Regions from separate parts of the Homo sapiens genome. Here regions 1, 3, 4, 5, 6 and 7 are each linked to region 2. The links are contacts of gene promoters, found by promoter capture Hi-C in blood cells and fetal thymus (Javierre and others, 2016). All regions are on one chromosome and are shown on one strand. The core of a region is centred on a gene start or on the middle of the fragment in contact, and the rest is flanking DNA. Distances in the headings are between cores, read along the strand shown. Region 1 overlaps LOC101928864 (a long non-coding RNA gene). Region 2 holds the start of SCARB2 (scavenger receptor class B member 2). Region 3 has its middle 4.2 kb from the start of CCNI. Region 4 overlaps CCNI (cyclin I). Region 5 overlaps SEPTIN11 (septin 11). Region 6 has its middle 19 kb from the start of CCNG2. Region 7 has its middle 34 kb from the start of CCNG2.

Region 1 (3,362 bases), core at 809-3,308, 940 kb after region 2:
ATTTATTTCAGTTGATTATTCGTGTAAAAGAGAGAGCACTGGATAACAAAGTACTGAGTCGGGCTTCAGAGTCAACCGAGCATTTAGTTCTCAAGTTCTCAGGTTGCAGAGATAGTTCCTACAAGGCTACTCTCTTGCAGGCTAGTAGAACTGGGAGGGACTAAAGTGGCTGGCTGGAAAAACTGGTCCTCTTGCTGTAGTCATTCAGATGGTGTCTACAGTGTGGATAATTTCCACAATTCCAAAGCCAACCCTACGTAGATAAACACTATGAATGTTTATGAATATGGCCAACCCTTGCATAAACACTCTTCCAAAAAAACAGGGCATGCTTCTAGCATTAACAACAAAAGCAACAAAATATATAGTAAATGGATTGTAAAATGTTGATTTCAAATTTGAGATGGTCTTGTTTGTGGGAAAATCAGAAAGGAGAATATATGAGATGTTTCACTGACTTATTCTGCTGATTGCTTGAAGACAGAGATTAATCATCTGCTATATAAATCATCTCATTCTTCCAGGTTCTGATTTAAAAATGAGCTCTTGGTTGAAAAATCTGCATTACTTCAAGATAGCACCCTATGCTACTATGCTATACCTTCCCTGTTTCTCTTCCTCAGAGAGGCATTCCTGTCTCCATTGCAGGTTCTGTGAAGCAAGACTTATCTAAGCAGGAAGTTTGGGGCTGCAAACCACTTTTTTTTTTTTTTTTGAGACAGGGTTTTGCTCTGTTGCCCAGGCCAGAGTGCAGTGACATGATCATGGCTCACTGTAGCATAGACCTCCCAGGCTCAAGCAATCTTCTTGTCTCAGGCTCACATGTAGCTGGGACTACGGGTGCATGCCACCACGCCCAGATAATTTTTAAAATTTTTTGTAGAGATGAAGTCTCGCTATGTTGCCCAGGCTGGTCTTGAACTCCTGGGCTCAAGTGATCCTCCCACCTCAGCCTCCCAAAGTGCCGGGATTCCAGGTATGAACCACTGTGCTCAGCCTAATGACAGAAAACAGCCCAGGCAGGGACCCAGCAATAGTGAGTAGACGGGGAGGGGGAGTATGGCCTCATGTCAGCTTTACGTATCCTTATCCTCAGGTTCTTTCCTTTCAGGGCTGCTTTCCACCAGACTTCTTTGATGAGGTTAGGGATGATCCCTTCCTTTCCCTTCATGAAGTCACAACATGGTGCAGCCTAGAAATATATAGCTAGTTGCTTTCACAAATGTTTGTATTCAGTCATCACATATGAAGCAGACACAACTACCTCTGGCTTTTTGTTTTCCTCAGTTTAGAAAGCTGAGGCTCAAGACCATGGGAATTATTCAGGGTATTCAAGGCACCATTTCTAATGAGTAGGAAAGCTGAGACACAAAGCCAGTTTGATCCATGGCCAGTGCTTTTGCCCTACACCTCAGACATACCAGGGTATATGCTGGGGCCTTGTTTTATTTATGTATTTTTGTATTCCTGGTGCCTAGTAGCATGCCTGGCACTCAGTGTGTATTCACTAAATTTCGATTGAATAAAAAGCTAGGATTTATTGTCAAAAACCATATCTTTGAGGAGAAAGATGATATTTGGAAAATTGTAGCAATTTTGATGCCTTATGAAGTTCAGGGAAGTCTAAGTCATTTAGGGAAGCACTGCAACTGTCCCATGAGAGTGCCCTATTTTCAAGGTAGAAGCTTAAGTGTGAGCAGGTTTGCAGCACACTTGTCAGGAGTCAGGGATTCACTGAATGTAGTCAGTGTTTCTGTGTGGGCACTCCCTGCTTATTACCCATTCTGTGAGCACCTTTTAGTTTCAGTCTCACATGTCACTGAGGACAATGGGCTGCACATCAGGCTTTCATGGGGTTATTGGTGACAGTATCACCCAACCCCACTGCACCCCTACCACATGCTGTAGAAAACCAAGTATCTTAAATTGTCTGGAAGTTCTTGGGGGCTGCCAAGTTTCTGATTTCCTTATTTTGTATGTGTGCATGATACAGGAAATTTGCCTTCCAGAAAGCTCAGGAAAGGCTAATGGGTAAAGCCTGATTAGCCTAAGGGGAATAATGTCTTTTTCATAAATAACACTTTCAGCTCCGGCAAGGTAAGCCAATGTGATAAGGACAAATAGAATGAGGAGAATTTTTTTTTAAAAGATATATTAACAAACAAAAAATTCTGCAAAGTAAACAGAGAAAACCTACATAATCCCCCAGCCCATTTCCTAAGAATATCATCATTCTTAAAATGAGGTGTTTAAAAAAGAGGATGCTGTATTAATAATTACTGGATCTGTATTTTTAATGATTGCTTTCCTTTAATCTTAAAGAGATAAGTGGACTAACGTGGATAAAGGGCTCCATCTTGGACAACTTGATCAGTCTTTTCTTCTGTGCTGAGCAGGGCCTGCCAAGAGCAGGAAATTCAACGCCATTTACAAAGCTTTCTTGTCTTACTCTCAGAGAAAGCCATCACTGTTCACATCATTCAAGAGGCTGTCTGTAAAAGGACACATAAAATACCAGTTATGAAATATAGAGTACACATTTAGTATAGCTTCATATCATTTAGTGCTAAGCAGCAAGATGATTATGTCAAATAAAAGTTATCACTTATTTATGTTTAAAAGATCAGATAAGCATTGGATAAAATTATGTAGCCTAAGCAAAGGACAATTTCTAAATCTTTTCCTTTTTGTTTTATATAGTCTGTTATTTTTAAAGTCTTCTACCACATAAATTTGCATTTCCTCTTTCACATCACTTATAAAATAACGTATGTTCCTTTTTTACCTTTGCCTTCTTACTTGAAAAAAACATCCCCAGTCTCCTTCATGCTTTGATCACAAACTCTTCATTTCTCTGATGGTGGATAGTTGGTCGAGCTGCTTTCTGTCTGTGGGCCCTGTCCACTCAGCCTATTGATGCTCTGTACAATGAGCTGTCATCTCTGTAATTTTAATCTTAGCTCTAGTCTCTAAGTTAGTTTCATGCTCCTATTATGTTTATCAGCATAGATTTCCAGCAAGATGATTATGTCAAATAAAAGTTATCACTTAATGTTTAAAAGATAAAACAAGCATTGGATAAAATTATGTAGCCTGTAAATCATTTAAAACTGGTGTGCTAATTTTATCTTATTTTCCAAAACCCTCACCAAGCTCACACCTCTCTGAAATAAGTGTTAGCTTTTTGGGCTGCCTTCCCCCAGTTGCTCTGTGCTCCAAACAGATGCCTGTGTTTAGTCCGAGCTAATATGCAAAGGGACCTAGTTTTAAAATTCCTTAGCTGCTCCGCAAAGAAGAGCGCTGCCAAAGCTATGTTGTGTGCCTTCCCATATTTCACAAGTAACAAAATAATTCACAGAAAA
Region 2 (2,955 bases), core at 221-2,720:
TGCCTTTAACTGCCAGATTTCAGGTACTCACTTAATTACTTTTGGAAACTCAGTTAAAGGAAGATATCCATTGCCACCTGGAATAAAATAGCTTTACTGACTGGAGAGTGCAGTGATTCAAAGTAGACTAGGCCTGGGCTTTTTTATCTGGCCGCAGCAAGTGCAGACCAGTGGGAGAAATGAAGCGTGCAGTTATGGATGCTAACAAGAAAGGCTGCTGCTCCAGTGATTATTTTTCTTTTTTAAGGAAAAAATGATCCCAGTAATTCTCTTTTGTTCCTCTTTTGACACAGCTTGGTGGATGTGGGGGAAAGGGCAGATGAAATGACCAGTGAAATCAAAAGATGAAGTCTTCTTAAAGGACTGGCTCTCCAGCCCAATCATCTAGAGGAAGAGACAAGTTCAGATTCTTGTAGGGTATCTAAATGCATCTGTGCCTGAAAATTATGGCCGTTTGAGAAAAACAAGAATTCATGGTGAGACAAAGCAACACAGACTGTTGGTACAAGATACAAAGCCACTAAGTCAGCGTTCAGCAAAGACTGATGGATGAATTGTCACCCAGCCTAAAGGACTGGCCCAGCTACCAACTGCCCCTGCCCAGCCCAAGAGGGCAAGAACACAATAGACCGCACACCCACGTCTCATCCCCAGGCGCACACCACTTCAAAGGCTACAGCAAGCAGACAACATAACCTGCCTCTTCTGCGGTGTCTTTCATTCAGTTCTGTTTCTTCATGAAGTGGGAAGGAAACAAGTTTGGGCCCACCTGAGATTGGGGTGTAGACGGAAGGAGTGGGGAGAGATGCAAACGACAGAACACAACCGAAGGCCTTTTTAAAAGTCAGGATCCATAGCCTTACTTATCACTGTAAAGGGAACAGAGTCGGCTCCATCCTTCCTCATCCTTCTTTAACCCTCGCCTACCAAGCCCTGGAAGACAGGGACGCAAGAAGAGCTCTAGCGCGGAGGGTCTGCCTGAGTGCTGGTCTTTCCCATACAAGATGTAGCAGCAGGGATGGGAGGGTGAGCTGGACGACTCCACAACACACACACAGCCCGCCCCGCCTCACCTTCTCGATACTCTGGTCTACAGCCTTCTGGAAGACCCGGGCCACCAGCAGCGTGACGCTGGTCACCAGCAGGAGCAGGGACAACGTCCCCGCCGTGTAGAAGCAGCATCGGCCCATTCTGTGCGCCGCTCACGGGCCGGGCCGGGCCGCACCCGCCAGGGATCCAACTGCAAGGAGGGAGGAGCCGCCGCAGAGGCGTCGAAGACCCGGGACCCTTCGGCGCCACGCCCACGCCCTCCCGGCGCACGGTTCGTGCGCGCAGCTCTGGGCTCCGCGGCCTGGCGAGCGCGGCCCCGGGTGCACCGGGCGGATGGGGCCGCGGAGGGACGGGCCCGGACTCGGTTTCGGTTTCCTTCGCCGGGCAGCCGTGGCGCCCGCCTAGCGCAGCTCGGGAGAGTGCAGGGAGCGCGCAGGGACGTGACGTTCGCGGGCCGGGCTCGCCGCAACCCCGCGAGGCAACCGCCGGCGACTGCGCGGGGAGGCGGGCGGGGGCGGAGGCCGCAGTCATGTGCCCTGCGGCGGCGGCAGTGATTCGGCCCGCGCCCTCCCCGGCCGGTCCCCGGTGGCCCTGAGTGGCTGCGGCGCCTGAGCCAGGCCCGGCCTGGCCGCTCCCAGCGCCCTGCACCGCAGGCCCAGCGCTCGCCCCACCGAAATTGCCGAACCTGGTTCACACACTCATTTACTCATTCCGCAGATAGGTCTGAGGGCCTCCCATGGGCCACGCGCTGGGGATTCAAGGTGGCTGGGACATTCCCCTGCTCTAGAGGCGCTCGCAAGTTAGCGGGGACACCGTTACCGCAATTACAACACAATGTAGCAAGTGCTTCTACCAGGTGCCTGCTGAGATCATGCCAGCAAGCATGTTCTGCCTGGATGACCTAGGGCCCCACATTGAACTGGGGCCTGGGGGATGCATAAGTTTGTCACGTAAGGGGCATGTGCAAGAATGGAAGATGTGCAAAAAAGGGAGGAGGAGGCATTTCACGGAGAAGGAAACGGTGAGCAAAGGCATTGGGGGTGAAAGAGCAAAACCTGTAGGAAGCAAGAAGGAAGTTCCTTTTGACTGTAGGCTCAGGTGTTCAGGGGGTGGAGTCGGAGGTGTTGAGGCCCCAAGAGGTCAGACTTTGAAGGGCTCTTGGTATCCTGTTAAAGATGTGGAAGTTGGGAAGGAGCTTAAAGCAGGCATCGCTGGTGTTCTTGCCTGCTTTGCTCACTGTGGTGTCCCAGACACCCAGGACCAAGACCTGCACACAGCCAGGACTCAAGAAGTGTTCGTTAAATGAGTGTTTCTTCTACGCCAGCCCTTTACTAGTTTCTTTGCACAGTTCTACTCATTTAATACCCTTGGCAGTCCTATGAATAGGAGGTTGTGTTTGTCCCAGTCCTCCAGAAACAGTCCCAGATGGGGGTACTATGCAAGAGAGTTTTGAGGGAAAACAGGGAGCTGGACCTGGGATGCAGGTGTGATCCTTGTGAAGGAAAGAGGCAAGCAAGGAAGGAAGGTTGGGTGGAAGGAAGCATTTGATATATATACAGTCCATGTATAAAAAGTTCAGCAAGGCCATTGGGGTGGGGAATCCTTTAGCCAAATGGGCTTGTCCCAGAAGTCTGGCATCTCCCAGAAAGAGGCCCGCCTTAGTATCCCTGCTGTGCTCAGTCATGAGCTGGGAGCAGCCTTAGGAAGCTGGCCTTTGCAGCAACCTAGGGATAAATATCAGGGTATGGATTTCAGCAGAGCTCAGCAGTTGAGGCGGAGCCATTGGTCAGTTATGCTATCTACACTGCAAGATCCAAGAAGTACATTTTCTTGGCAACTATAGTGTATTATCCTCATTTTACACTCAAGAACACTGGGGCTCTGAGTTAAGTAACCTAACAAGCT
Region 3 (3,318 bases), core at 279-2,778, 870 kb after region 2:
ATCAAGCAATCCTCCTGCCTCAGCCTCCTGTGTAGCTGGAACCACAGGCGCATGCCTCCATGCCCAACTGATTTTTTGAAGGTTTCTTTTTGAGGTGAGAAAAATGTTCTGAGATTGATTGTGTTGATGGTTGCGCAACTGTGAATATTTAGGTTGAGTATTATCCAAAATATTTGAGACCAGAAGTATTTTGAATTTTAAACTTTTTTTTCAGTTTTGGAAATGTTTGCATTAAATTATATACTTACTGGTTGAGCAACCTAGTCTGAAAATCCAAAATGAGCATTTCCTCTGAGTGTCATGTTGGCACTCAAAAAGCTTTGGATTTTGGAGCATTTCAGATTTTTGTATCAGGGATATGCAACCTGTACTAAAAACCATTGAATTGTACACTTTAAATGTATTACTTCTATGGTGTTTGAATTATAATAAAGCTGCTACCCAAAAAATGAAAAACAAAAATAATTCAATTAACATCTTCATAACCTCTTTGGGGCTATTCCTAGGTCCAACAATATTATGTTTTTATGGCTTTTACTGAATACCAGTTGCCAGTTGCAAGGCAGAAGATTAAACCAATTAAAATGTTACCAGGAGTCTTTAAGAGCTCCCATTTAATTATATACTTATCCTTATTAAAACTATCTTACTGCCTATGAGATTGCCAGTGACAATTTAATCTACTATAAATATAATTACAAGTAATTAATAGGTGGGTAAGTAACTAGTTGCAGTTGTCTGAACAAAAAGTATGGATATTTTCTTTCTTTTTTTTTTTTCCTTTGAGACAAGGTCTCACCCTGTCACCCAGGTTGCAGTGGTGCGATCTCAGCTCACTGCAGCCTCAACTTCCTAGGCTCAAGCGATCCTTCCACCTCAGACTTCTAACTAGCTGGGAATACAGGTGTGCACCACCATGCCCAGCTAACTTTTGTATTTTTTGTACAGACGGGGTTTTGTCATGTTGCCCAGGCTGATCTCGAATGCCAGAGCTCAAGCAATCCAGCTACGTCAGCCTCCCAAAGTGCTGGGATGACATGCATGAGCCACTGTGCACAGCCAATATGGACATTCTTGTTCTTCAGTATCCATTTGTAAGACCATACTTTAATTCACTTTTTTTTTTTTTTGAAACAGAGTCTCTCTCTTGTCACCCAGGCTGGAGTGCAATGGTGCAATCTCAGTTCACTGCAACCTCCATATCCCGGGTTTAAGCAATTCTTCTGCCTCAGCCTCCCGAGTAGCTGAGATTACAGGTGTGCCACCGTGCCTGGGTAATTTTTGTATTTTTAGTAGAGACAGTTTCACCATGTTGGCTAGGCTGGTCTCGAACTCCTAACCTCAGGTAGTCCACCTGCCTCGGCCTTCCAAAGTGCTGGGATTACAGGCTTGAGCCACTGCGCCAGGCCATATTTTTTTTAATAACTAATAATTGTTTTTACAATTAATTGTAGTTGTAAAAAATCGAAAGTTTATGAAATTCCCTGAGAAAATAAATAAGATATATAAAGAGAACATATTATCCGCGTATTGGTAAATAACTTCTATTTAGTAATTCTAAATAGTAAAGTTAGACTACCATTCTACACGGCATTTCTAGGTGTGGTAGTTCATGCCTGTAATTGCTTTGGGAGGCCAAGCTGGGAGGATCATTAAGCCCAGGAGTTTGCACCAGCCTGGGCAACACAGAAAGACCCTGTATCTGAAAAAAAAAGGAGAGAGAGAATAATAATAACTAACACATGTTGATCACTCACTATGTAGCAAACATTATACTAAGCATTTTTATTGCATTCTTTTGTGTTTATCCCCACAGCACTCCTCTATAGTAGGTATTTTTGTTGTTCCTATTTTACAAAAGATAAAGAGGTAAAGTAAATCCCAATATTCATCACATAGCTTAGAGGGGCACAGCCAGGATTCAAACCCAGGTTGACTATCTCCAAAGCATGGTATGTTTTTAATCACTACTCTTTACTGCCTCTCCCTTAGAAGTTTCTGGCTTGCAGTAAATTTTAGGACAAAAATAGTCACCTTGTGGTGATTTTTGGCTTGTGTTTAATCTTAAATATTTTTAAAAATCTAATATGCAGTTATTTGTGTGTCTAAAGAGTAGATTTTTACTGGAAAAGGATTTCAGACTTGTTTTATTTCATGACTAGAATATTAAATCTTGAAATTAAACTATACCTTGCTTCAAATCAAAGAGGAGCAGCATAAGGAAGCACATGAGAAACAGCTATCAGAATAAAGACAGTGAGCGGGTGTGATGCCTCATGCCTGTAAGCCCAGCACTTTGGGAGGCTGAGGTGAGTGGATCACTTGAGGCCAGAAGTTTGAGACCAGCCTGGCCAACATGGCGAAACCCCATCTCTACTAAAAATACAAAAAGTTAGCCGGGCATGGTGGTGTGTGCCTGTAGTCTCAGCTACTCTGGAGGCTGAGTCAGGAGAATCGTTTGAACCTGGGAGGCGGAGGTTGCAATGAGCTGAGATAGCGCCACTGCACTCCAGCATTGGCGACAGAGTGACATCCTGTGTCAAAAAAAAAAAAAAGGAAGTATAAAGACTGTTCTGTAATGCAAAATAGTGTAAAGTGAGACCTCTTCAGAAGTCTAGGAAAATGGAAGGGAATCAAATTGATGGCCAGGAAGTGGTTCGCTATCATTAAATATTTCTAGAAATACTGCCTACATTTTTAGGAGTAAAGAAAGCAAGGCTGTTTCATGTTTAATGACAGAAGCTTCTATTCTCCTTTGTCCTAAATGAAATTTTTAGATAATGTTTCCACAAGACAATTTATGAAGGTACTATCTTGTAGGAGAGATGTTAAAGCCTACAAGAACAAAGGAAATTATTTACTGTCATAATCACTTAGCATCTGCCCACACTTTAGGATTCTTTTAACAACTTCTAAAATATTTTTCATTTATCTATACAGAGATAGAATGTAAGAGGAGTAAATGTCCCAAACCAACTTGGCATCAAGATATTAAGAGAAAAAAAAGTCCCCATTCACCAAATAATATAAAGACCTCCTCCTTAATATTAAGTGGGGAAAGTGCTCAGAGGGAATAAGTCAAGGAAGCCTCAAGCTGCCTTTTTTTTTTTTTTTAAGAGACAAGTGAACATTTATTTTTGTGCCTTTCTTCCTATGTGTATTTCAAGTCTTTTTCAAAACAAGGCCCCAGGAATCTCCAGATTCAATTGTGTCCCTGGGCTTGGTCGACTGCTGCAGGAGTCTTAGGGAACCTTGTACAAATGCTAGAGTTACTCATTTACCAACATTAAACCTTAGGATAGAAGATGCAACAAAAGC
Region 4 (3,137 bases), core at 319-2,818, 850 kb after region 2:
TCACAAGACTTCTGGATGAAGAGTTAAGCATTCAAGAGAAATTAAATTCCTATCAAGATGAGCTTTTATCCAAAATGCCACAACAAATAAGGAAAAGTAATGTTAACTAAGCCAGCCAAACACATCAACAAGGAAATAAATTCCCAGGAGAGGTAGGTGATGTTATAATCTGATGAAACTGGGAAGGCTTTTAGGGAGATGAAAGGAACGATGACTTACAGTAGCTATGAAAACAAGAACACCATTAACTCTAACCTTCAGTTAGAGATACAATGTGGGGTATGGGAGAAAAAAAAAAATCCCTGAATGACAGATTACATTAAATAATGTCACTATTTGGTGTTTGGCATTAAACAATAACAGAAACATACAATTGTAAGAAGAATCACAAAGGTAACATACAAAAAAAGAGAATACAGTTATATGGAGATTATCATATAGTTATAACTAAATGACATAACTAATGTAAAGCATATATATGGAATGCAAACGTACTCAAATATTAGTTCTCCTTTCCCACCTCTAAACTACCCAATTCTCTAATAATGTCAGAAAAACAAATTTACAAAACATTATCTATGAAGTTATTTTAAACACTGTTAACAATTAGTCATGAAAGAAATCATGACAATATCTTTGAACTTTAATATTCCATATACTTTTTGAGACAGGGTCTTGCTCTGTCACCCAGGCTGGAGTACAGTGGCACAACCATGGCACACTGCAGCCTCGACCTCCCAGCCCCAAGTGATCCTCCCACCTCAGCATCCTGAAGTAGCTAGGACCAGAGGTACGTGCCACCAGGCCCGGCTAATTTTTTTTTTTTTTTTGAGATGGAGTCTCGCTCTGTCACCCAGGCTGGAGTGCAGTGGTTCAATCTCAGTTCACTGCAGCCTCCGCCTCCTAGGTTCAAGCAATTCTCCCTGCCTCAGCCTCCCAAGTAGCTGGGATTACAGGCTTGTGCCATCACGCCTGGCTAATTTTTGTATTTTTAGTAGAGATGGGGTTTCGCCATGTTGGCCAGGCTGGTCTCAAATCCCTGACCTCAAGTGATCTACCCATCTCAGCCTCCCAAAGTGCTGGGATTACAGACGTGAGCCACTGCGCCCGGCCTAATTTTACTTTTTTGTAGAGACGAGGTCTCACTATGTTACCCAGGCTGGTCTTCAACTCCCAGGCTCAAGTAATCCTCCCACCTCGGCCTCCCAAAGTGTTGGGATTACAGGTGTAAGCCACTATGTTTGGCCCATATACCAGATAGTAAAATTTAACAACAGGGCCAAGAAAAGCATTCCTGCATAGCCAATGTTATCATCACTAGCCAAAACCAGCAATAATTTTTTTAAAATCCAAAAGATAACAGTTTAAGAAGACTCAATTTAACTGAAGTAATACTGAGTCTAAGGTCACTTTTTCAAATCAATTCAAATATGTACTAAACAGTAATATCATCATGACAGCATTACAAATAGTAAGTTCTGCGCCTAATTCATTTCATTCCTATTCCTCTAAAATAAAGAATGAGAGAGAAAAAGAAAAAGCCCAAAACAGTATTTCCTGATTCCATCAGGTGAACTGTTTCTCATATGGACTGCTTAAATAGGATTAGAAGGATTCAGTAGTTGAACAAATAATCCTAAAGAGAATTTATAATGGATTGATCAAACATGGTAAAATATAGACTGCTATTAATATATATTCTGTATATATATTATATTCCACATGCTGCTAGTCTTCTCCTTAAAATATACAACCTCCCCAGCTTTAAACTCTAAAAGGTTCACCATTACCTAAAAGATTAAGTACAATTCCCCAGCATGGCATACAAATCTATGACCTACCTCTTCTTTGTTGTTGTTGTTTTTGTTTTTTGTTTTTGAGACAGTCTTGCTCTGTCACCCAGGCTGGAGTGCAGTGGCGCAATCTTGGCTAACTGCAAGCTCCGCCTCCCAGGTTCACACCATTCTCCTGCCTCAGCCTCCTGGGTAGCTGGGACTACAGGCACCCGCCACCACACCCAGCTAATTTTTTGTATTTTTAGTAGAGACGGGGTTTCACCATGTTAGCCAGGATAGTCTCGATCTCCTGACCTTGTGATCCACCCGCCTCGGCCTCCCAAAGTGTTGAGATTACAGGTGCAAGCCACCATGCCCGGCTATGACCTACCTCTCTAACCTCGGACATCTTCCATCACTTTCTGTCTTAAACTTCATGCTGTAATAGTAACTTCTACTGATGATCCTTCCTTGCCCCTGGTATTTTACGTTACTGCTCCTTTGTTCATATTGCTCCTACTGACTGGAACGCACTCCCTTCTCTCTCACCTGCCTTATTATGTATCTCTTGAGAGCTATTTTGATGTTACTCCCCGCCAGATACTTTTCCTGATAATTCAAGTTGGGCTGAGTACCTTCCTATGTTCCCACAGCATCTCATTACACCTGTTAAACGTTCAACATTTTTTTAAAAATTAAATTTCTGGGCATGGCTCACAATTGTAATCCCAGTACTGTAGGGGGCCAAGGCAGGAAAACTGCTTGAGCCCAGGAGTTTGAAACTAGCCTGGGTAACACAGTGAGACTTCATCTCCACAAATAAAAAAATTAGGCATGGTGGTGCGTGCCTGTTACCTCAGCTACTTGGGAGGCTGAGGTGGGAGGATCACTTGAGCCTGGGAAATAGAGGCTGTAGTGAACTGTGATGGAGCCACTGCACCCCAGCCTGGGCAACAGAGCAAGACCCTGTCTCAGAAAAAAAAAAAAAATTAAATTTTTCCTTTTGGCTTTGATGAAGTAGGAAGCAGCAAATCTAAACTCCAGTTGAGAATGACTAGAAAAGCTGTTAACAACCTCTTTTTAAGATTCCTTAGAGTTCTAAAATTCTACTGAAAATCATCTGTATATCAACAATTTGTGGCAGGGTTTTATCTTTGTAAATCAAAAGCACTTTGGCAAAATAAATTGAGAACATCTGAAAGTATGTGCCACTTTGACCAGTTTCAATGTTTTCCCCAAATTCATGTAACAAAATTATCATGAACTTGAAAGTACTATTACATAATATAAAAGAAGTTCTCTGCAAGTGCCAAGAACACAGTAAGGTACCTGAATGAATCATAAAGAAATGATAATCACCAT
Region 5 (3,291 bases), core at 350-2,849, 790 kb after region 2:
TATGAGCACCACAGTAATGACAGATAAATGTTTAATTCATTCTTTAGCTGAGCACCAAGCTCTTTATTTTATCTACAAAGCACTTTAAATGCTCTTCAGTAGACATTGTCCCGTGATAACAGGAACAATTGGTAGATAGAGTGAGAAAGATTTTATTTTGCATACCAAAATGGACTATCTGTACATTGTGCTGGGGCAGGGAACAAGTTCAGCTCTGACACTGCAGCTGAGCAGTTGCTCTTAATATATGACCTCAATGACAGGGAATGATGGAGAGGCCCCTGCCTGAAGGCTGTTTGTAATGCCAAGAGCAGTAAATGAAGAGAAAGGCCTGGTCATAAGGAAAGGGGCACAAGTGCATTGTGGGAGCTGGGAAGAGAGCCGGGGGTTTCAATCATTGCATACTCACAGAATATACCCAGAGCAAGGCCTGTTCTCCATCTCTCAGACTGGTATAGATTTTCTCACTGGCGTTAGGAAAAATCTTGCTTGTCCATTCCTTGATTGGAAGACAGCAACTGTACTTTTTCAGGATCCCTCCCCCAAGGAATGAGAACCATCCTCCACATAGCCTCTTGCTGAGATTCCCTGTGCTCTTCCAGCTCACTGGGGTTGCCACAGTGCTGCCACTCAATTTTTGCCTCTCCCCTAAACTGGGACTTTCCCTCGGGCTGCTGGTGGCTTTTCACTCCCCAATCAGCACTCAGCAGCAAACAGTTAGCACAATGCATATCCTCATATTTGCAGCTGGAGCCCTCCTTAAGAAATTATCTGACTCATTTGGGTCAAATAATAGTTTCCAAGGAGATTTAGAAGAGAGGAAGTGTGATATTAACTTAACCTAGATACCAAATATTTTTTTTCCTCTGAAATTTCTTGACAGCTATTGCATAACCTCTTTAAATGGCACTTAAAACTCTCTGTTACCCTGTGCCTCAGAAGGTATTGTTGACACTGTTGACTGTAAAGCCAAATTACTTGTTCACAAATTGTTATCTGGACAGGCTCTGCCTCCCTCAAGAAACTGGAAGTGGGATATTCATTTCTGCATCAATATATAACCATATGGAAAGGGATGTGGTATTTCTCTATGCCCATGTTGATTTTTACCTACTTTGGGGATTAGGCAAGCTTTTCTGCCATAGATGCAAGACTTCAAGAATGTCCCAGTTTGTTTATGTAGGCTTTGGACATGTCAACATTCCTGTATTATTATCTGCCTCAGACCAGGCTAGCTAGAAGGAGGCAGGAAGAGAGATCTGGTAAGGTTTCCTGTTATGTTTAAAAGCACATTTCACTCTTTGTTATTTAAGGGCTTCCTTGTTTTGGCTGTTTGTACTCTTCAGTGGAGAAAGAAAGGGGCCTGGGGAAGAAGGGAAAGCAAGTTTTGTTGTTCAATTGGAAATAGAATAATTAGTTTGCCCCACACTGGGGAGATGGGAGGTGAGCTGTCCATGGCGTATCACTAGCTGTAATGATAGTTAGCCCTCAAAGGCAGAGATAATTGAAATCCCCTGAGACGGAATTTCAACCTCACCAAATCTTTATCAGAGTTATAAAACAGTAGTGAGATGGACTGTTTGGCCTTTAAATTTTAAGTTTTTAATCACACTTTCTGGTGGAGGTAGTCAAGGGATAAGGAAAATTGGCTAACAGACAGCAAGATAAGGGAAAAACATGGTAAGTATTTGGTCGTATATGAAGTGGAAAGTCAGTCCCTGAATGATGGCATTGGCCATTTTGCAAGAATGATCAGTGGGTAGGTTGGATGGATGGATCACATTGTCTAAGTATCTTTTTCCATCGGTTTTAGGGTTAGCCTCTGTCATTTTTGTGTGTGTGTATGTTTTATGGCTGGAGGTATATGGAAAAAAAAATGAGTGCTGTGTAACAAGGAATATCTCCATGCCTTAAAAGAAAATGATGTGAAAACGTAAGGGCTAGATTGGATTTGTCCTCCTGTCTTTCCTCTGATTGATATGGCCACAATTCAGGGAAGTTTTAATTGGCAAAAAAAATATAAATAAGTGTTAGTAGGAATGGGGCTAGCAAAAGGCTAAGTTGGGATTAAGCTTCCTATCTTTCTCACTTTAGATGGAGAAGTGGAAAGGATTTGGAGGAAGAGGCAGATAATTCATCTCATCTACAGGATGATGATGAGGAGTACAAAACCACTTGGCTGGCTTGAGTCTCATCAAGAAGAAATTATTTCATCAGCATAATTAAATCTTTGACATAGGGAATAGTGGTTTTGGTAAATTGTTGTCCAGGAATACATTTCTTTTTATTGGTTAATAATGGTATGGAAGGTAAAGTAGATGGGATTTCATATTTATTATGTGTATGACATAAGAGAAGGAGGCTCCAGGTTGAATCCCAGGTTTCTGACTTGGCCAGTGGTGTGGGTGGTGGCCCACCATGCTAAGGAATACAGGGAAAGTGAGGGTTTGAAGGCAGGATGAATAGTTCAGTTTTGGACATATTTAGTTGGAGAAGCAGTTGAAAATATAGGATAACCAATTGTGGATGGGTCTGAAGCTCAGAGGAAAGATCTGGGTTGGAGGTAGAGATTTATGACTTGTCATCAGATAGATGGTGAGTGGAACACAGGAATGAGTATGATTTTCTAGAGGGAATACATAGAGTGAAAAGAAGGGAGACTGAATGATTGGCCAGGACTCTCTAATAAGAACAGGTAGAAGGAAGCCTGAGATATTAGAGAACAAAAGATATCTTGAATCCAGTGGGGAAAGCATTCCTCACTGCAAAATGAGTGTTGTTATGCTTCTCATTATCTTTGGAGGATCAGAATCAAAACCAGAGGCAAGAAGGGAAACTAATAGAAAACAGAACCATATTTGGACTACTATTGAGAGGAGGAGGTGCTAAAAGCTAAAAATCAGACACAGGGGAGGCAGGGGAGCAATTGCTGTGAGCTGCTTCTCTTACCCTTTGGGATAAGAGGCTGCTGGGGAAGAGCCCTAATCCCCAAATCTGCCTCAGTGTCAGGAGACAGAAGGATCAGCCCCAGACTCAAAGGGCAAAGGGCATGGGTGGACCTCACTGGAGTGGCTTGCTCTACTTCCCTACTGGACATGAGCTCCATAGCAGAACAGATAACCAGCAGAGAACTGGGTGAATGTAAAGTTCCTTTTTTTTTCCTTAGGTTTTTCTAAAAAGTCAGGCTTGATTCTATAGTGGTGGTTGTTTATTATATAATTATGAAATAGTTATATCTGACTTTTATGTGCCAGCCCTTTACATGTATTGCATGTATTGGCTCATTTATTT
Region 6 (3,079 bases), core at 418-2,917, 960 kb after region 2:
AACTACCCAGGAAGAGCTTGGCTTCTGCTCAAACGCTGAGGTGGGGTTTGATGATGCTGCAGCTGGTGACTGGGAGCTGCTGCCCTCCTGGTGGTGGAATGGCAAGATCTTCCTGGAAGGGAGATCTGTGTGTCACACCTCCCAGCTGCCACATCATGTAAATTCTCTGAGAACTAGTTTTCTTGTTTTTTTTGTTTTGTTTTGTTTTCATTTTTGTTTTTTTTTTTTGAGATGGAGTCTTGCTCTGTTGCCCAGGTTGGAGTGCAATGGCACAATCTCGGCTCACTGCAACCTCTGCCTCCTGGGTTCAAGCGATTCTCCTGCCTCAGCCTCCTGAATAGCTGGGACTACAGGCGCCCACCACCATGCCTGGCTAATTTTTGTATTTTTAGTAGAGACGGGGTTTCACCATGTTGGCCAGGCTGGTCTCGAACTCCTGACCTCAGGTGATCCATCCGCCTCGGCCTCCCAAAGTGCTGGCATTACAGGCATGAGCCACTGCGCCCGACCGAGAACTAGTTTTTTAAGCTGAAAAAAGGGTACTCAGAATGCCAAAAACCTTCAGCACAAACGCTTCTTTCAAACTTCTGCACGAACAGACTTGACCAAACTTTAACACGGCTTCTAGCAGACTAAGGTTGTGTCCCTGGGGCAACCTAGCCTTCTTTTAAGTTCCTGTCTGGAAAAGCTCAGGGCTGTGAAAAGAATTTGCTGTTTGTTCCAGCCAACACCTGAAGATAGACCCCTGACCTCCTTACTTAGAGCATTTACCAAACAGGGCTTACAATTGTGAATTCTTTCTCTGTCTCTTTGAGATGTATGTGTATCTCCTGCAAGTCAGGAGTGTCTCTCTCAAGAATCTGAAAGCCATTCCTTTGAAATGTAATTATCAGGAAGGATAGGGCCCTGGCTCCTAACTGGTGTTAATTGCCAGCTAGCACGTGCAGCTGGCCTAATTATGGTGATGCCCACCAACCGTTTGTAAGGCTTCACCAGAGTCCCACAGGCTCCTCCTCCCTCCTCCCGCATCTTCCCCTTTAAAACGCCCAGTCACCTCAGCACAAATCAGAATTGAGCTCTGCTCCTTCTCTTACTCTCAGTAGTTACTGAATAAAATCTGTTTTCACCACGTTAACGGACGGTTGTTTATCTTTGACAATAAATACTAAGATCTATCTTCCCAACCTCACAGGGCTGTGAAGACGGAATAAGTTAATGGGGAAAATAAAGTTGTGAAGCTCTTTGCAAATATAAGTTGTTGTCAGTGTGAAGGCTTTGCATATATTGTTCTTAGAGAAGGTTTTAAAAAACTACATCAAAGTATTTTTCTGTTACTATATCTCCTTTGTAAAAATGTAAGCAATATAGAGAAAGTGGATAATGCCTCTAATACTGTTCCTCAGAGATGCTACTGTCAACAGAATGACATTTATCATTTCATTCTTTTTATGCAAGTATAAACATGTAAACTTTAAAAAAATGTATAAGCACGATCCTACTCTATGTATGCTTCTATAACCCACTTTCCTCATTTAACAATATATCAGGGGCATACATCAGTGTCAGTAGATATAAACCTACTTCCTTATTTTTAAAGATTGAAGAGGGTTTTGTTGGATGCTTACGTGATAATTTATTTAACTGATCTCTTTCTGATGGATGGCTGTATTATTGACAATTGTTCAGTATTTTAAATCAAAGCAGCAGTAAACATTCTTGCACATACATTTCTGCCTACCTGGGTAATAATTTCTTTAGGATGCATTTCTAGAAGTGAAAATCTTGGGTCCAAGAGAATGTACATTTAAAATGTATACTGTGTTGACCTGCATCCCTGAAAGGGGATATAGATTTATATTCCCATCAGTAATGCCTTTCAGTGACAGTTTCCTTACTTCCTTGACAGGTAATTTTGATGGGGAAGGGGGAGGAGGGTCAGAAAGGCAAATGGGGTCAATTCGATTCCTAAAGAATTCAGAGGAAGGTGTCACTAAAAAGGATGGGAGGAAAAAGCACAGACCCCAAAAGCTGGGCTCAGAAAGTAGGCAGTGCCTGACTACCTTTTGGTCCCAGGTTCCAGCTCGCCCACCACTGAGAAACACACATCCTAAGCCACCAGAACATGGGGACTCCTTTCCATAGGATGTGGGAGGCAAGCAACTGCAACGGCTCCCCTTGGGCCTGGGCAGGCAAAAGCCTTTCTGTACAGCACTGGAGAAAGCTCTGCCTGCAGCTATACCTGCCTGGCCTCGGCTCTTGCCTCATCTTGCACATTAAGGAGGAGCAAGGTTGATGTGTCCCACGAAGGAATGATCAAAGTCTAGTAAAGCTGCCAACTCTAAGAAGTGGTGCTGCGCCTGAACTTGGGGCCTGGCTTGGGGAGCAGACATTCATCTTTGGTTGCTCCAGGGAAACATTTCATGTTATTTTCGGGTGGGGCATTGGAGAGGGGGAAAAGGTGAAGGTGGCAGACTCATATTTTACCCGCCTCCATGTCTGTGTTGTACCAGCTGCCGTAGTTCTTCTCTTTCCATTTTTTTCTTATTAATTTTCTTAAATTGAAAAGATTGGAGCGCATTAACTTTCATGGGGAAAAAAACTTTAAAATACTGTTTGAATTCTCATCTTTTATGTATCCATTCTAATACCGCAAATGTCTTCATGATATATGTTACCTGCCAGCTGTTGTCGCAGGGGGTTGTGTTTTTCACATAGTTTCCAAGGGCTAATCCTTTTTTCCTTTGCATCTTACACTAAGCAGCTTTAGAGCACAATGGTGCAGCTGCTTCACAGCTGTTGTCTGGACTTAGGGCAAGAGCCCTGTTTGGGGTTGAATGATTTGACTCCTTTATGCAGTTTCCAGGACCCTGAGTTCTGAGAACACACACAGGGCTGCTCAAGCAAGAATGAAATGAGCCTACAAGAGACGCTTCTCCTTTGTCTGAGGCACACAGAGAGAACTGCATTTGCTCACCCAGGGCCAGCCCCAGCAGGCTCTCAACACTGCTTTTCTTCCCTTTCTTGATGCTGTTAGAAAAACATGAAAAAGATGGCACAGAGAGAAGCAGACCTAGTTATC
Region 7 (3,319 bases), core at 613-3,112, 910 kb after region 2:
TGCCAGCTGAAGTCTTTTTATGGGCACAGGATAGGGCTGTAGCAGGCCAAAAAGGCAACATTTGGGTGGAAAAATGGGGTCAGCTGTTTTTACTTAGGACTGCAGCATTCCAGGCTTAAGGGTGGGATTTAGCCGGGAGCCCAGCCATTCTGTATCAGTAAGTTCTCTGAGACAAGTTAGAGGCTAAGAAAGGAGAGGGTTTGGAGAGTGAGGATGACATACGGAAGGGATCTAAGTCTTTCAGTTGGTAAGATTCCCACGCTAGAGAAGGAAGAAGCCAGCAGGAACCAACTTTCCTTTCCCCAAACCTATTTACCATCTGACCTGCAGTGGTATGATAGATGGTGAAACTGCCTTTGCAAAATTATAACTGAGGAAATTATGACAGTGAAAGAAATCAGACCTAACCAACTCTATCTTGCTTCTAACCCTTAAGCTGTCCTTATTCATTTCTGGGTGGGTGTAGGCTGAACTAACTTTGGGAAGGAATTCAGTTCATGGTTTGACTCCAGAACAAAATTGATAACAGCCCTTTGCGGAAAAGATCCTCTTCTTGCCTGGGATCCAGTCTGCCTTTGCAGGAATAACAAATTAACTACAAGGTTAGAAATTACAATTTAGGGGTCATGCAGCCTCTGGCTCCAAGAGTCTGAACCTCCCCAAATTGCTCCCGGGGATAATATCACTATTTTAAAACCTAAGATCAGTGCTTGAGATGTTTTGCAGACCCTGCACTTGATGGATCAGCTGACACCACCCAGACCAGTAATCTGGCCCAACCAGCTCTGCCGTCATATCCAGGAACAAAAGACATTAAGAAAATCTAACTTTGACCCACTATGATTCCATCTCCTACCTGAGTAATCAGCATTCCCCACTTCCCAAGCCCCTGCCTGCCAAATTATCTTTAGAAACTCTGATCCCCAAATGCGCAGGGAGACTGATTTGAGTAATAATAAAAACAGCTGGCTCTGCGTGAATTACTCTTTTACCATTGCAATTCTCCTGTCTTGATAAATTGGTTCTGTCTAGGCAGCGGGCAGGGTAATCCATTGGGCATTTACAGTGGGGTAGTGGAACTCCCCATCTGACCTTGCCGCTGTGTAATGAGGAGGTCCTGGGGATATAAGCCCAAGGTGGTTTGGGTACGGTTTACTATTATACATTTTAGGGAGACATGAAACGTCAATCAATATGTGTAAGATGTATATTGGTTCAGTCCAGAAAGGTAATGAGGATGGTGGAGGAGTTCTCGCCAATGAGCATCAATTTCTTTTATCCCCCCAAGCTTTACAGAGGTAAAACTGACAAAAAAAAGTACAGATATTTAAGGCATGTAATGATTTGATATGCATACATGTTTTGAAATAATTACCACAAAGTAATTGACATATCCATAAGCTTACATAATTACCTTTTTATTTTAGGGGTGAGGACACAAGATTGATTCTCAGCAAATTTCAAGTATATAATGTATTACTGTTAACTATAGTCATCATGCTGTACATTAGGTCTCCAGAACTTATTCATCCTGCAGAACTGAAACTTTGTACCCTTTAACCAACACTTCCCTGTTTCCCCAACCTTTGGGCCCTTGGTGAGCACTCGTCTACTCTCTATTTCAATAAATGCAACTTTTTAGCTTCCACATGTAAGTGATGTGAAAGGAAAATAGATCTGGGACTTATCACTAAGCCAGAGGGAAAAGTCAAGCTGGGAACTGCATCAGGCAAACCTGCCTCCCATTTTATTACTAAGTAAGATAGCTACAAAGATAAAAAGCTAAATACTTCCCTCACAATTTCCCCAGAAGGAGATTACCTGTGGGCCACCAGGTCTTTACCCTAAAACAGTTCTGTTGAATTTCACCTTGGCAATGTAAATTGACGGCTTATCTTCACAGGAGCAAGAAAAAGGACAGAACTCAAAGGCATCCCTCTGCTCACCTGAGATAAATGCCTGTCTGATTTGCCTCCTCTGTCCCATTGTTTATGTAAAAATCCAGATTCACTGAGCCAGACTAAGGCTTAAATGACAATTCCTCTACCCCCTCTCACATGTAAGTTGTGTATTCACTGAAAGGCTCATCAAAATCCCAGAAGAATGCAACTGTTTGTTTCCTGTCTACCTATAACTTAGAACCCCTCCCCACTTCAAGTTGTCCTACCTTTCTGGACTGAACGAGTATACATCTTACACATATTGATTGATGTTTCATGTCTCCCTAAAATGTATAAAAGTAAACTGTACCCAAACCACCTTGGGCTCATGTCCCCAGGACTTCCTGAGGCTGTGTCACAGGTGTGTCCTTAACCTTGGCAAAATAAGCTTCCTAAATTGATTGAGACAGGCCTTAGATACTTTTGAGTTAACAGTGATATCATATGACATTTATCTTTTTATGACTGGCTTGTTTCACTCAGCAGAATGTCCTCTAGGTTCATTCATGTTGCTGCAAATGGCAGGACTCCCTTCTCTTCTAAGGCTGGGAAATATTCCACTTGTGTGTATTCCAACATGTATTCATTTGCATTCATATATAAGTATATATATTCATTTATCTGTCGATGGACACTTAGGTTGACTCTGTGTCTTGGCTGTTATGAATAATGCTTCAGTGAACATGAGATTGCTGGTATCTCTTCAAGATAGTGATTTAATTTCTTTTGCATGTATACCCAGAAGTAGAACTGCTCAATCATATGGTAGTCACATTTTCAGTTTCTTGAGGAACCTCCATAGTCTAGAATAGCTGTACTAATTCGCATTCCTGCCAACAGTGTTCAAGGGTTCCCTTTTCTCCACATCCTTGCCAATAAATGTTATCTTTTGAGCCTCAATATCTGAAGAGGGGAATCTGATTTCTAGCTAGTCCCTGAGAGAATAAACAACAATGTAGGGAATTTTTGGAAATAGGGAAGATTTATCTTTCGTTTGTTTGTTTGTTTTTGAGATGGAGTCTCGCACTGTTGCCCAGGCTATAGTGCAATGGCGCGATCTCCACTCACTGCAACCTCCGCCTCCCAGGTTCAAGCAATTCTCCTGCCTCAGCCTCCCGAGTAGCTGGGATTACAGGCGCCTGCCACCACGCCCGGCTAATTTTTTATATTTTTAGTAAAAACAGGGTTTCACTATGTTGGCCAGGCTGGTCTTGAACGCCTGACCTTGTGATCCGCTCCCCTTGGCCTCCCAAAGTGCTGGGATTACAGGCGTGAGCCACCGTGCCCAGCTGGGAAGATTTATCTTTAGAGGTCTGTGAATATTCTGTTTATTTGCTTCCAGAGTATCTCATACCTATTTATCTCCACCTCCCCCATGC

What was found. The method cuts DNA at HindIII sites, captures the fragments that hold promoters and counts their contacts. A CHiCAGO score of 5 or more calls a contact.
Region 1: a fragment that was not itself captured here is called in contact with the fragment with the promoter of SCARB2 in region 2 in 2 of 17 cell types (naive CD8 T cells and monocytes); the score reaches 6.0 in naive CD8 T cells.
Region 3: a contact is called between a fragment that was not itself captured here and the fragment with the promoter of SCARB2 in region 2, in 3 of 17 cell types (naive CD4 T cells, non-activated CD4 T cells and naive CD8 T cells). The highest score is 6.5, in naive CD4 T cells.
Region 4: a contact is called between a fragment that was not itself captured here and the fragment with the promoter of SCARB2 in region 2, in 1 of 17 cell types (monocytes). The highest score is 6.1, in monocytes.
Region 5: a fragment that was not itself captured here is called in contact with the fragment with the promoter of SCARB2 in region 2 in 2 of 17 cell types (M1 macrophages and M2 macrophages); the score reaches 6.7 in M1 macrophages.
Region 6: a contact is called between a fragment that was not itself captured here and the fragment with the promoter of SCARB2 in region 2, in 1 of 17 cell types (neutrophils). The highest score is 5.9, in neutrophils.
Region 7: a fragment that was not itself captured here is called in contact with the fragment with the promoter of SCARB2 in region 2 in 1 of 17 cell types (M0 macrophages); the score reaches 5.9 in M0 macrophages.

What each region holds. Positions count from the first base shown.
Region 1 is chr4:77,152,485-77,155,846 of GRCh38, forward strand. It overlaps LOC101928864 (a long non-coding RNA gene), which reads right to left. Exons shown (of 2, transcript XR_244659.5): 1 at 2,786-3,362; 2 at 2,270-2,492. Among named protein-coding and RNA genes, the nearest start is that of CCNG2, 3.0 kb to the right of the region's middle. RefSeq lists an enhancer at 110-159 and a silencer at 1,870-1,939. The HindIII fragment of the contact is 750 bases long and covers 1,684-2,433 here.
Region 2 is chr4:76,212,354-76,215,308 of GRCh38, forward strand. It overlaps SCARB2 (scavenger receptor class B member 2), which reads right to left and starts at 1,471. Exons shown (of 12, transcript NM_005506.4): 1 at 1,074-1,471. The coding sequence starts at 1,190. It also overlaps a transcript of FAM47E not described here. RefSeq lists silencers at 872-1,276, 1,190-1,809. The HindIII fragment of the contact is 5,631 bases long and covers 1-2,955 here.
Region 3 is chr4:77,078,493-77,081,810 of GRCh38, forward strand. No RefSeq gene overlaps it. Among named protein-coding and RNA genes, the nearest start is that of CCNI, 4.2 kb to the left of the region's middle. The HindIII fragment of the contact is 2,424 bases long and covers 317-2,740 here.
Region 4 is chr4:77,059,812-77,062,948 of GRCh38, forward strand. All of the region lies in intron 2 of CCNI (cyclin I), which reads right to left. Among named protein-coding and RNA genes, the nearest start is that of CCNI, 15 kb to the right of the region's middle. The HindIII fragment of the contact is 3,762 bases long and covers 1-3,137 here.
Region 5 is chr4:77,006,847-77,010,137 of GRCh38, forward strand. The region is part of intron 3 of SEPTIN11 (septin 11); the gene reads left to right. Among named protein-coding and RNA genes, the nearest start is that of SEPTIN11, 59 kb to the left of the region's middle. The HindIII fragment of the contact is 941 bases long and covers 1,130-2,070 here.
Region 6 is chr4:77,174,574-77,177,652 of GRCh38, forward strand. No RefSeq gene overlaps it. Among named protein-coding and RNA genes, the nearest start is that of CCNG2, 19 kb to the left of the region's middle. RefSeq lists enhancers at 1-534, 535-1,181. The HindIII fragment of the contact is 7,211 bases long and covers 1-3,079 here.
Region 7 is chr4:77,122,043-77,125,361 of GRCh38, forward strand. No RefSeq gene overlaps it. Among named protein-coding and RNA genes, the nearest start is that of CCNG2, 34 kb to the right of the region's middle. The HindIII fragment of the contact is 927 bases long and covers 1,400-2,326 here.